2 separate regions of the Homo sapiens genome follow, and region 1 is linked to region 2. The links are contacts of gene promoters, found by promoter capture Hi-C in human tissues and cell types (Jung and others, 2019). All regions are on one chromosome and are shown on one strand. The core of a region is centred on a gene start or on the middle of the fragment in contact, and the rest is flanking DNA. Distances in the headings are between cores, read along the strand shown.

Region 1 (6,570 bases), core at 1,726-4,225, 240 kb before region 2:
ATCGTGCCACTGCATTCCAGCCTGGGTCTCAGAGCGAGACTCTGTTTCAAAAAAACAAACAAAAAGCTTTATTTAGGGCTGGGTGCCATGGCTCATGCCTGCAGTCCCAGCACTTTGGGAGGCTGAGGTGGGCAAATTACCTGAGGTCAGGCATTTGAGATAAGCCAGGCGGATCACAAGGTCAGGCATTTGAGACCAGCCTGGACGACATGGTGAAAACCCACCTCTACTTAAAAAAAAAAAAAAAAAAAAAAAAAGGCCGGGCGTGGTGGCTCACACCTGTAATTCCAGCACTTTGGGAAGCCAAGGCGGGCGGATCACAAGGTCAGGAGTTCGAGACCAGCCTGGCCAACATGGGGAAACCCCACCTCTACTGAAAATACAAAAATTAGCTGGGCGTGGTGGCAGGCGCCTATAATCCCAACTACTCGGGAGGCTGAGGCAGGAGAATCGCTTGAAACCAGAAGGCAGAGGTTGCAGTGAGCCAAGATCATGCCTCTGCATGCCAGCCTGGGCAACGAGAGCAAAACTCTGTCTCAAAAAAATAAATAAAAAATAAGGCCAGGCGTGGTGGCTCACATCTGTAATCCCAGCACTTTGGGAGGCTGAGGCAGGTGGATCACCTGAGGTCAAGAGTTCGAGACCAGCCTGACCAACATGGTGAAACCCCATCTATACTAAAAATACAAAAAGTAGCCGGGACTGGTGGCGCATACCTGTAATCCCAGATACTCGGGAGGCTGATGCAGGAGAATCGCTTGAACTCAGGAGGCAGAGGTTGCAGTGAGCTGAGATCACTCCATTGCACTCCAGCCTGGGCAACAAGAGCAAAACTCCATTTCAAAAAAATAAAATATAGGAACCACCTAAATGCCCATCAATTGGGGAATGGTTGAATAAATTATGGTACACCCATACTATGGAACAGTACAAAGATATTTTAAAATAAAATAGATCTAGGCCATGAGCGGTGGCTCATGCCTGTAATCCCAGCACTTTGGGAGGCCAAGGCAGGGGGATCACCTGAGGTCAGGAATTCAAGACCAGCCTGGCCAACATGGCAAAACCCCGTCTCTACTAAAAGTACGAAAATTAGCCAAGTGTGGTGGCGCACACCTGTAATCCCAGCTATTCTGGAGGCTGAGGCAGGGAGAATCACTTGAACCTGGGAGGCGGAGGTTACAGTGAGCTGAGATCGAGCCATTGCACTCCAGCCTGGGTGACAGAGCGAGACTCCATCTCAAAAAATAAATAAATAAAATAGATCTATTTATATATTTACAAGGAAAAGTATCTACTATATACAGCGAATTATTTTTAAAGCCTCTGAATAACATGTATAGACAAGCTTCTCCCCTTACATTTCAATGTCTACAGTCACAGAAAAAAAGAATGTCAACTCTTCCCTCCACCAACAGATGGCATTAGCTATAATGAATGGTCTTTGTGAACTACATACAATTCAACAATGTTGCTGTTCTTGTGTCCAAGTAATGTTTCACATATTATCAACCCCATAGTAGCCAAAGAAGAATAAAGCCAGGGAGAATTCTGAACATGCAAACAATTGTATAAGAAACAAACATAGAAATAATATTTACTTTGTGGAGGAGATTGCCACAGTGGGAACAGATGGAGATCTCACTCTGTCACCCAGCCTGGAGTGCAGTGGCACAATCATGGCTCACTGCACCCTTGAACTCCTAGGCTCAAGCAATCCTCCCACCTCAGCCTCCTGAAGAAGCTATAAGCGGGTACCATCACACCCGGCTAATTTTATTATTAATTTTGTAGAGACAGAGTCTCACTGTGTTGCCCAAGCTGGTCTTGAACTCCTGGCCTCAAATGATCCTCTGGCTTCAGCTTCGCAAAGCACTGGGATTATAGGCATGAGCTACTGTACCCGGCCAGGAACAGTTTTAAAGGACAAAAAAAGGCCGGGCACCGTAACTCACGCCTGTAATCCCAGTACTTTGGGAGGCCGAGGCAGGGGGACTGCCTGAAGTCAAGAGTTTGAGACTAGTCTGGCCAACATGGTGAAACCCCATCTCTACTAAAAATGCAAAAAAAATTAACCAGACCTGTTGGCATGCGACTGTAATCCCAGCTACTCGAGAGGCTGAGGCAGGGGAATTGCTTGAACCAGGGAGGCGGAGGTTGCAGCGAACCGAGATAGCACCACTGCCCTCCAGCCTGGGTGACAGAGCAAGACTCCATCTCTAATAAATAAATAAATAAATGGACAAAAAGATAAAGCATGTAGCACAGGAAAAGAAGAAGGAAAACAGAATGATAAAATGGAAAAAAAAATCAGTTTATGGCTAAATAATCAGAATCAAATTGGACCTCTATCAGCTTATTTGTCTGGAAATAAGTAGTGAGGAAGAGTCAAAGTTTAGGCCTGAATTTAGATCAGCCCTCATGAATTCAAGGAGACAGAGGGATATGAGCCCCAGAACCAAAAGCCCCCCTTCACCCCAGGTCACCCCAGGAACTGTGGCTGCTTCCCTTTGCCTGCCACTCCTCCGAGCAGCTCCACTGCCTAAGGTTCCACCTCAACCTCTTAGAAAGAAGAGACCCTGAGATCAAGTAGTCTTGCTACATTGATCCCACAGCCTGGGGGTTGGAGAAGAAGGAAGAGTGACAGATGTTCCTGCTTGCTTCACCCTTGCAGAGCTTTTGTATTGCCAGTGTCAGTCACCCCACAAATACTTAATCCTGAAGAAAGTGAAGGTTTGTCCTAAAAGAACTCCAGCAAAAGGCAAGGCAGAACCAAACCAAACCAAACAGGTCCTGGTCAAACAGGCAGTTTTCCAAATATATCCAAAAAATCTAAATATGTCAATACATTTTTAAAAACTAGCTGGGCGCGGTGGCTCACGCCTGTAATCCCAGCACTTTGGGAGGCTGAGGCAGGCGAATCACAAGGTCAGGTGTTCGAGACCAGCCTGGCCAACATGGTGAAACCCCATCTCTACTAAAAACAGAAAAAAATTAGCCAGGCATAGTGGCGGGCGCCTGTAATCTCAGCTACTCAGCAGGCTGAGGCAAGAGAATAGCTTGAACCTGGGATGCGAAGGTTGCAGTGAGCCGAGATCACTCCACTGCACTCCAGCCTGGGCAACAGAACAAGACTCCATCTCAAAACAAAAACAAAAACAAAAACAAAAAAACAGAAACACTTTCTTCCAGACCGTCCACCATCCCCACCACAGCCCTCTACCCCAGGCACAACTACCTACCTCCCAGACACAGGTTTAAGACAGCCTCAATCTGGCTGAGTGAATTGACTCACACCTATATAGTCCCAGCACTTTGGGAGGTCAAGGCGGGAGGATCACTTGAGCCCAGGAGTTCGAGACTAGCCTGGGCAACATAGAGAGATCTTGTCTTTACAAATAAAAAAATTTTAAAAATGGTTTTTTTTTTAATAGCGCGGTGGCTCACGCCTGTAATCCTAGCACTTTGGGAGGCCGAGGTGGGCAGATTGCCAGAGCTCAGGAGTTCAAGACCAGCCTGGACAATATGGTGAAACCCTGTCTCTACTAAAAATACAAAAATGTAGCCAGACATGGTGGCACAAGCCTGTAGTCCCAGCTACTCAGGAGGCTGAGGTGTGAGAATCGCTTGAACCCGGGAGATGGAAGTGAGCCTAGATCGCGCCACTTCACTCCATCCTGGGTGACAGCGAGACTCTGTCTCCAAAAAAAAAAAAAAAAAAAATAGCCAGGCATGGTGGTGCACACCTGTAATCCCAGCTACTCAGGAGGTTGAGGCAAAAAGGATTGCTGAAGCCCAGGAGGTTGAGGCTGCCGTGAACCGTGTCTGTGCCACTGCACTGTAGCCTGAGCAACAGAGTAAGATTCTGTCTCTAAAAAGAAAAAGGAAGAAAGAAAAGACAGCTTCAATCAGAGAGGAAGTAGAGGCAAACAGAAGAAGGATGGCCTCATTTTGATTTTCTGTTGGTTCTGGAATCTGCTTCCCTCTGGCTTCCACAGTTTCTCCCCGGTTGACTTTCAGGAAAGGAGGTAGCAATCCAAACCAGTTCATCATCTAAAATTTGGGGGCTCACTGCTTCTTTTAAAATTAAGGTTGAAGTATAATTTACATACAGAAAAATGCACAGGACTTGAGTGTACAGTTTGATGAGTTTTGACAAACATATGCAACAGTGAAACCAATATCCTCAACAAGATTTAGGCCATTTTAATCAACCCAAACGTTTCCTCCATGCCACACACCAGTCAATCCCCTTCAGAGGCAACCATTGTTCTAATTTTCACAACCACAAATTAGTTTCTACCTGTTCTCACACTTCATATGAAAGGAATCACTCAGTATTGCTCTCTTGTATCTTGCTTCTTTCACTCAATCTTTTTTTTTTTTTTTTTAAACAGGGTCTCACTCTAGTGCCCAGGCTGGAGTACAGTGGCGTGATCTCGGCTCACTGCAACCTCCGCCTCCCGGGTTCAAGTGATTCTCCTGCCTCAGCCTCCCAAGTAGCTGGGATTACAGGTGCCCACCACCATGACCGGCTAATTTTTATATTTTTAGTAGAGACGGGGTTTCACCACGTTGGCCAGGCTGGTCTTGAACTCCTGACGTCAGGTGATCTGCCCTCCTCGGCCTCCCAAAGTGCTGGAATTATAGGTGTGAGCTACCACGCCCAGCCTAAATCCTAAAAGTATTTTAAAATCTAAAAATATGGGAGGCCAAGGCAGGTGGATCACTTGAGCCTATTAGTTCAAGACTAGCCTGGGCAATGTAGTAAGACCTCATCTGTGCTAAAAAAAAAAAAAAAAAATTTAACTTTTTAAAAAATGGCAAGTAACACTGGTGTCTGTAAAAAGAAGAAATCTAAAAATAAAAAAGTTTACTTTCAAAGAAAGGTTGGAGGTGGCTAAACAGATCTAGCTAAAGCCTTTGTGTCAGGTAAGTACCATTTGCTTCTGGGGAACCCCAATTCTTTTAGCATGTACCCCACTCCACTTATCTGGAAAAAAATCTGGAGCAACAATGCTTGACCTCAACCCAAAGTTATAGAAGGAAACATAATTGACTTCAAATAATATAGCAAACTTTAAGTCCACATATAAAAATTGACTGTTGTCCAGACACAGTGGCTGACGCCTATAATCTCAGCACTTTGGGAGGCCGAGGTAGGAGGGTCACTTGAGTCTACAAGTTTCAGACCAGCCTGGGCAACATAGCAAGACCCTATCTCAACAAAATTTTTTTTTTTAATTAAGCGAGTATGGTGGGGGGAGCCTGCAGTCCCAGCTACTTGGGAGGCTGAAGTAGGTGTATTGCATGAGCGCAGGAGGTCAAAGCTACAGTGAGTTGTGATCATGCCACTGCACTTCAGCCTGGGCAACAAAGCAAAGACCTTGTTTCAAATTTTTTTTTTTGAGACAGAGTCTCGCTCTGTCGCCCAGGCTGGAGTGCAGTGGCATGATCTTGGCTCACTGCAAGCTCTGCCTCCCAGGTTCACACCATTCTCCTGCCTCAGCCTCCCAAGTAGCTGGGACTACAGGTGCCCACCAACACACCCAGCTAATTTTTTCTATTTTTTAGTAGAGACGGGGTTTCACCGTGTTAGCCAGGATGGTCTCCATCTCCTGACCTCATGATCCACCCACCTCGGCCTCCCAAAGTGCTGGGATTACAGGCGTGAGCCTCCGTGCCCGGCCTCAAAATATTTATATAAATTTACTGTCACTCAAAATCTAGGTTTGAAATTCACTCTTGGTCACTAAAGGGGCAGGTGCAGAGTTTTTCTGTCCTGGGTCCTCAGCCTCGTGCCCCATTTCTAGCTCTCTTCCCTGCCCCTCTGCCACCCCACTCCTACCCCCACATGGGACTGCTGCTGTGGAATATGCTTTCTCAATTTCCCAAAAGTCTGAGGTCATCCAAAGAGCCCCCTTACTTACTTAGCAAGTACAGGAGAAGCCTTGCAAATCATTTTTTATTTGCTAGAATTTTCTTTTCACCATTTTTTTCTCCTCTCAAAAGGAAACTTTCCATCCTGCAGGAAGAAGACAAAATAATTATCTCATTCACGTGGTCAATGATAATGACTGTGATAAATGGTCCCAATAAAGAGATTCTTGGGTGAACAGGGATCTCCAAGCATTGCCACGATAGTACACAGAGAGTTTTATCTGTGGTTTATGTACACAAATAAGTTCTGATTGACAGAAAGACTGTGGACTCAACAGCTGACATGTAAAAGGGCAGGATGAGGCCAGGCGTGGTGGCTCATGCCTGTAATCCCAGCACTTTGGGAGGCCGAGGCGGGCAGATCACCTGAGGTCAGGAATTCAAGACCAGCCTGACCAACATGGTGAAACCCCATCACTACTAAAAACACAAAATTAAGCAGGTGTGGTGGCGCATGTCTATGAGCCCAGCTACTTGGGAGGCTGAGGCAGGAGAATCACTTGAACCCAGGAGGCTGAGGTTGCAGTGAGCTGAGATCACACCATTGCACTCCAGCCTGGGCTACAAGGTGAAACTCTATCTCAAAAAAAGAAAAAAAAAAGAGCAGGATGCCAAATGAGCAGGATGCCT
Region 2 (6,592 bases), core at 3,731-6,230:
TAGGGGCCAGGGAGGGGCTAAATCAGATCTGGGCATGCCCACCCAGGGCGGGCTGTGGGGTGGGGGAGGCTCTGCATTCCACCGTGGGCCCTGAGCACACACCTCGCCGTGTTGCAGGTGAGGATCTCTGGCGCTGGCAGAAGCAGAATCCTTCAGGCTTTGGCACGCAAGCCTGAGGACCCTCCCCTACCAAGGACCAGGAAAAGCAGCAGCTGCCTGCTCTCCAGCCTCTGGCAGGAACTCAGGGCCCTGGAGCTGCTGGGGCCAAGCCAAGGCCTCCCCTACCTCAAACCCCAGCTGGGCCCGCTTAGCCCACCAGGCATGAGGCCAAGGGCTCCACTGACCAGGAGGCCGAGGTCTCTAACTCTTATCTTCCACAGGGTCCAAGAGTTCATCAGGACCCCCAAGAGTGAGTGAGGGGGCAAGGCTCTGGCACAAAACCTCCTCCTCCCAGGCACTCATTTATATTGCTCTGAAAGAGCTTTCCAAAGTATTTAAAAATAAAAACAAGTTTTCTTACACTGGGGCAGGTTCTCACAGATGGTCACTATCCACCCCTGGAATAGAATCAGCCAGGCCTGAGCGTTGAGGAAGCAATTTCTTTAATTTTATCGGAATCCAGGACACAACAAGAAAAACACCCAAAAACCACATGGAGACAGAAGACGAGACACAACTCCTCCCCCACTGCCTCCCTGCTCTAGAGTGGGGACAAAGTGGGGGTGAGACAGCTGGGGGGAGACCTGAACCTCAGTCCAGCCCTACAGGCTCCAGGCCTGCAGGGAAGGAGGGTAACGGGGAGGCAGGGCCCAGCCCCCCAGTGTGGGGAAACAGCTGAGGGAAGGCCCCCCTCAAAAGGCTCCACCTCCTCACCAGCACTCCTGCCCAGGGACAGGGAGCCCACAGCAGCAAGGGGACCCCGGGGCCATGGCCACATTCATGACTGAGAAGCAGCTGAGTGGAGGCAGGAGACACGATTATCTGGGCAGAATCAGTTGGGGCAGGGGCCTGGGGGGGCCCCATGGGCCAAACCCTGAGGTCACAGGAGGGGGCCCAAAGCGGGGCTAGTGAGTGAGGTCCTGAGTGAGTGGGTCAGCGGCTGGGCCCCTTTCTCCAGCTGCCTGTAGCCCCTCCAATACTGCTGCCAGGGGGGCCCGCCTCCAGGGAAATGGATAAGAAAGCAGCCTGCCCCTGCTGCAGACAGAGCCAGGTGGCTAAGGCCAGGAAGGAAGGCCCGGCCAGGCCTTGCCACCTGCCCCCAGAGGCCTGTGGGAAAAGGACAGGTCAGGAAGGGTGGGGACAGGGGCTCGACCGGCTCAGATCCAAGATGGTGCCACGCTTGCTTGCTGAGTCCCCCATGAGCTGGGGTACTGCACTGGGGCCAGCGACTAGTTAGACAGGAGGCAGCAGCTTCTCAAGAAATTCCTTCACAGCTGCCATCTCCTGAGGGGATTAAGAGGGGATCACGAGAGGCACCTGGCTGGAGGCAGAGAAGTGGGAGTGGGAAATGGTCCCCCCACTGACCTGAGGACAGGAGCTGTGCATGACACCCGGGTATGTCTTGAACTGGACCCTGGCAGGTGTGACAACAGACCGGAGCTTCTCAGCCGTCAGGGCCCCAAACCGTACGGGCACCATGGGGTCCAGCTCCCCATGGCACTGGAGTATGGCCAGGTCCTTGGCACTGCCATTAGCTGCCTGGAGGCCGGACAGGACTCAGGGCAAAGCTAGTGCTGCAGCAGTCCCCAAGCCACGAGGATGCAGACACAAAGGGCGGGGGGGTCAGTGGGGACATTCACCTGGGGGAAGGCCCGGTGCAGAGGCAGCCAGCAGCTCAACGCCACGATGCCAGCCAGAGGGTGGGGGCAGGTGAGGGCCGTGTAGAGGGACAGGGCCCCGCCCTGGAGGGAGGAGAGAGAGGGGTCATGAGGGCACAGCTCACTCACCGGCCACCCCTACCCCCTACCCCCCCACCCCTCTCCCCTCACCTGTGAAAAGCCTCCCAGGACGATTCGATTGGCAGGGATCCCGTTCTTCATTTCATGCTCAATCAAGGCCTTGACTGGGGGAGGGGGCATGAGTGGGTAGAGGGAAGCTGCCAAGGGGCCCAATAAGGGAGCTAGGCTGAGGAACCGCCCAGCGCTTTCCTGGGGGGCAGGGGAAGGAGGATGTGGAGGAGGGGCTGGGGTCTTACTGTTCTCTGCTGCCTTCTTGATGCCAGCCTCGTCCTCTGGGGCATCTGGACTCAGCCCCATCAGGTCAAACCTTGGGAGTAGAGGCACTGGCAGCTATAGAAAACCCCAGCCAGCCCCCTGTGGCTCCCTCAGCCCAAGTGTCCTCGTCCCCCTGCCCACCCCCACTCCCAAACTCACCAGGAGGGCATCACCATCTTCATGTTGAGGGTCACAGGGATCCTAGGCCTGGGGAAAGAGAGCCAGAGGGCCCATCATGCTCAGGAGGAATGAGGAGGCCAGAGCTCAGAGCCCGGAGTGGGGCCGCGCCGCCCCTGGTGGCCCCTCCCAGCAGGCAGGGCCTGTGTTTAAGGTGTTGCCAGGCAACCTGCCACGTGGGGCTGGAGGCTGTGGTTGGGGCAAAGCGCCAGTAATGGAGAAGCAGAGCCCAGCGCTTGGTGTGACGGGGTCCCAGGTAGTCGGTGAGTACTTGGGGAAGGGGCAAAGGGAGGTGTGGGTTCTAGGAGAGCTCAGGTCTAGGAGGCCCTAGGGCTGGGGGCTGGTGCTGGACCCCACTCCTGGGGGCTCCACAGGAGCTCAGGCTGAAAATGCCACTTCTGACTGCCCTGAGCCCAAGCCCCAGGATGCAACTGACAGGAGAGAACAGGCCTGGGATGACAGGACCACCCCCAGATGATCCCCAGCCTCAGCCCCTCCCTTGCTGGGGTGACACTCACGCATGGGGACAGATGTACTTGACGTGAGGGAGCCGGATGGTGGAGAGGGCGTCAGCCCAGCTGTGCCTGTAGGAGGGACGGGAGAAAAGGCTCCGATGTGGTAGGAAGAGAAGGCCTCTCCAGTCCGCTGCTGGGCCAGGACCCCTCCTTAAGGAGCACCCCTCCTCAGTCACTTACCCTGTGTCTCCAAGTCCATGTAAAAAAATAACCTGGAAAAGGATGGGAAATGGGGAGACAGGAAGGCTTCCCCTAGGTCCTCCAACTTCTGCCCACCCCTCCCCCACCCCCAAGGACCTGGGGGAACCCAGGTAGCAGCCAAACAGGTTACTACCCCGAGCCTGCTGGCCTCAGGATACTCCCTGCTCATCACTGCCACCTCCATTTTCCCACACCCCCTCCAGCCGGTCCTCCAGCTGCTCCCACAGTGTCTGGCCGTGGGTGAAAGGGGACCCTTACCGCGGCCGTTTCCCGCTCAGCTCCAGACACGGTGGCAGCATCGGTGAGCAGGGGCACAGACATGGTGTTACCACACATACACCACACGGCTCCACGGCGGGGGCCTGCATACATCGGGGCGGCGGTCAAGAGCAAAACCAGGCACAGGACACACTCCTGGCCCAAGAGGCCACCAGGCCATCAGCCCCACACAGCACCCAGGTTCTGTCCTGGGCACAAAGAATAGTCAAGCAAGAAGTCCCAGGGCACAGGAGAAGAAGTCTGCCTCAGTTCCAGGGCTGAAAGGCAGAGACAGCCTCCCTAGTGGCCCAGAACATGTGTCTCTGGTTCTGGCCCAACCACAGGACCTGAGCTTGCTGGAGACAGGCAGAGGCAGGGCATAGGGACTGTAGGGCAGGGGGCAGAGGGGAGGCAGCGGCACGCCTGCTTCATTCCCCCTCTAACTCCTCAGGGGTGAGTGCCTTCCCCCTCCTCTCCAATCATCCCTGGGTCCCTGCCTCCCCAACTCCGGGCCCTATGGGAAATGGAGAGAAAAGTGCCAGGGAAAGGAGCTTCCATCCCCTACTCAGTGCCGCCTCCAACCCCCATCTCAACCTCCCCCCACCCAGCCCCCATCCAGCCTTCACAGCAGTTTCTGGCCCATCCATTCCCAGACCCCCAGGGGGCTGCCCATGTCCCCAGAAAGCGTAAGAACTCCACCCACCCCCAAACTGGTGCTCCACGCCCCCCCTAAACGGAGCTACCTGCTGCTGCTGCCACTGACTGCAAACGAGCCCTGGCTTGACCACGCTCTGGGACTCCCAAACACACAAAAGAATGTCAGGCTGGCTGGCCCCTCCCCATCCTCGGCGTCCTCCAAACTCGCCGGAAGCTTCCACTACCTGCCTCAAGTGCCTGCCCACCCCTCCCAACTGGCCTCACCTTCCATCTCTGACCCCTGAGGGCAGCTCCCCACAATGGGATCGTTCACCTGTGACCCGGGGTTCCTCTTCCCATGGGGAATGCACCTCCTGCCCTGAGCTGCGATTCCCTTCCTTCTCCACCGTGGGGACTTGCACCTCCCGCCCAGGCTCCCTCCTCGGAGGGGTGCCTTCCCCCTGACCTGTCTCTCTCTATACACCTTGAGAACTTCCACCCTGACCCAGGATCTCCCGCTCCCCACAATGGGAACTTCTGTTCTGACCAAAGGTCACCCTACCCAGTGAAATTTTCTACCCTGACCCAGGACTCCCACCTGCCCACAATAAAGCTTTGTACCTTTGACTCTGGGGAAGCCCCCGCCCCACAATGGGCTCTTCTATTTCCGACCCTGAAGTCTGTCTCTTTATACTCAGACACCCCCTTGCCTAGCCCCGCTCCACTCCCGAAGTCCCCAAGACTGGACAGCGCCTTCGCACCTCACTCCCCACCCCCATCCCCCCCATCACGGTTCCCCCTCCCCGCTCTCCGGGACCCTCCCGAGGCCGACCTCCCCCTACACGCCCATCCTCCGCAGCCGCCGGCTGGGTACCTCCACTCCCTGGGACTTCCGAGGCCGCTTGGGCGATTCTCCTCTTTCTCCCGCAGACACACTCTTCCCCCTCGGCCGCCCCCGCCGGAACTTCCGTTCGAGTCCCGGGAACCCAGCCATCGCGCTGCCGGAAGTAGCCTGGCCGACAGTACGGAACCCGGAAGCGGGGACCCGGCTTCGCTGGATAGAAGCTGCCATGTTGGAGGCGGCGGGGCTACTCCCTGTCATTCAGCCGCGCAGTCGCTGGGTTCTCACCCGCTCCCACCTTGTAGATTCGAGACAGGGCACCCAAGACTCCCACTTGCTACCACCACCCATGCGCCTCCTGGAGGAGGGCCGACCGGAAGGAGAGGCATCCCTCACACTATTGTTTGCATAAACTTTACCACCTTCCCATCCTCATGGGACACACCTCTTAAGGCCTCGGGTGTCTGCCACTGGCTTTCATGCCCTATTCCAGGATCATGAATGGAATGACACACTCTGAACCGAAGAGACCTTACAGATCATCTAGTTCTCCAGCCTTGAAGATGGGGAAACTGAGGCTCAAGGAAGGCATGTAAACAGCAACCTCGGGATTCCATTTAAATTCTGCCTCTCTGGATCTGCTTCCTGATATATAAAATGGTAATAACCACCCTGCCTCCTTCACAGCTTTGTTGGTAGGCTTAAATGAGGTTGTGTGAACATGGTTTATACAGTAAAATCACAGCGTGAGGTGTTAATCACGCAAAAAAGGACCTAGGAAAAATACAAAGGCCGTATCAGGAGAGCTGGACAGGCACTGGCAGTGTTAGCGCTGCCCTTCACAAGCAATGTCATGCAGACAGTGCACAAAACGCTGCCATCAAGCTGAAGTGGAAATAGGTATCAGGGACCACAGAAAAGTCAGAAGGCAGGCAAACTGAGTTGAAGGAGCATGTCCCTGAGAATGTGTGGGGATCTGCAAATAGGAAATGAGTCACACTTGACCCTCAGCCGCTTAGGACTCACTCTCCCAGCCTAACCTATACTAGTGTTTTCTTTGAACAGAAAGAAAACAGTACAGCCAGGCGCGGTGGCTCACTCCTGTAATCCCAGCACTTTGGGAGGCTGAGGCGGGCGGATCACGAGGTCAGGAGATCGAGACCATCCTGGCTAACACGGTGAAACCCTGTCTCTACTAAAAATACAAAAAATTAGCCTGGCGCTGTGGCGGGCGCCTGTAGTCCTAGCTACTCGGGGGGAGGCTGAGGCAGGAGAATGGCGTGAACCCGGGAGGCGGAGCTTGCAGTGAGCCAAGATAGTGCCACTACACTCCAGCCTGGGCAACAAAGCGAGACTCTGTCTCAAAAAAAAAAAAAAAAAAAAAAGAAAGAAAAGAAAAAGAAAACAGTACAAAGTTGGAAGCTCAACAAAGCACTTTCCCCCAGGCCCAGAGGCACTTTGGTCCTAAGTACTCAACAGGTCAGGGAGCCTACAATACCAGGATTCGGGGCAGGAAACCTTTGAGCCTATGGGACCACCACAAGCCAAGGACCCAGGACTGAATGTCAAAAGAAAATGGAGGGTAATGTCCCCACTTATGGAAGAATGAACAGTTCCTCCTGCAACCTCGATCACCTGAGACACCATGACACTTAAAACAAATTCTTCAGAGTGAAGCTTCAAATTCAGAGGCTCAGTCCCAGGAGCTGTGATTAATGCTTTAATTAGTGGAATTAGTGAAGGGCTAGTCT

Evidence for each region. Contacts are between HindIII fragments. The study calls those that stand out against the background at their distance.
Region 1: a fragment that was not itself captured here is called in contact with the fragment with the promoter of LYPLA2 in region 2 in 1 of the 25 tissues and cell types used here (bladder).

What each region holds. Positions count from the first base shown.
Region 1 is chr1:24,023,122-24,029,691 of GRCh38, reverse strand. LOC105376863 (a long non-coding RNA gene) reads right to left here. Exons shown (of 3, transcript XR_947072.3): 2 at 5,931-6,025; 3 at 717-814. Among named protein-coding and RNA genes, the nearest start is that of MYOM3-AS1, 40 kb to the left of the region's middle. The HindIII fragment of the contact is 4,536 bases long and covers 708-5,243 here.
Region 2 is chr1:23,789,533-23,796,124 of GRCh38, reverse strand. It overlaps LYPLA2 (lysophospholipase 2), which reads right to left and starts at 4,980. Exons shown (of 10, transcript NM_007260.3): 1 at 4,875-4,980; 2 at 3,365-3,468; 3 at 3,086-3,117; 4 at 2,909-2,974; 5 at 2,373-2,420; 6 at 2,195-2,265; 7 at 1,989-2,062; 8 at 1,800-1,901; 9 at 1,525-1,698; 10 at 586-1,443. The coding sequence starts at 3,442. The coding sequence ends at 1,393. It overlaps LOC105376860 (a long non-coding RNA gene), which reads left to right and starts at 2,593. Exons shown (of 2, transcript XR_947067.3): 1 at 2,593-2,653; 2 at 5,335-5,511. It overlaps GALE (UDP-galactose-4-epimerase), which reads left to right. Exons shown (of 12, transcript NM_001008216.2): 12 at 118-526. The coding sequence ends at 176. RefSeq lists a silencer at 4,743-4,802. The HindIII fragment of the contact is 2,550 bases long and covers 4,425-6,592 here.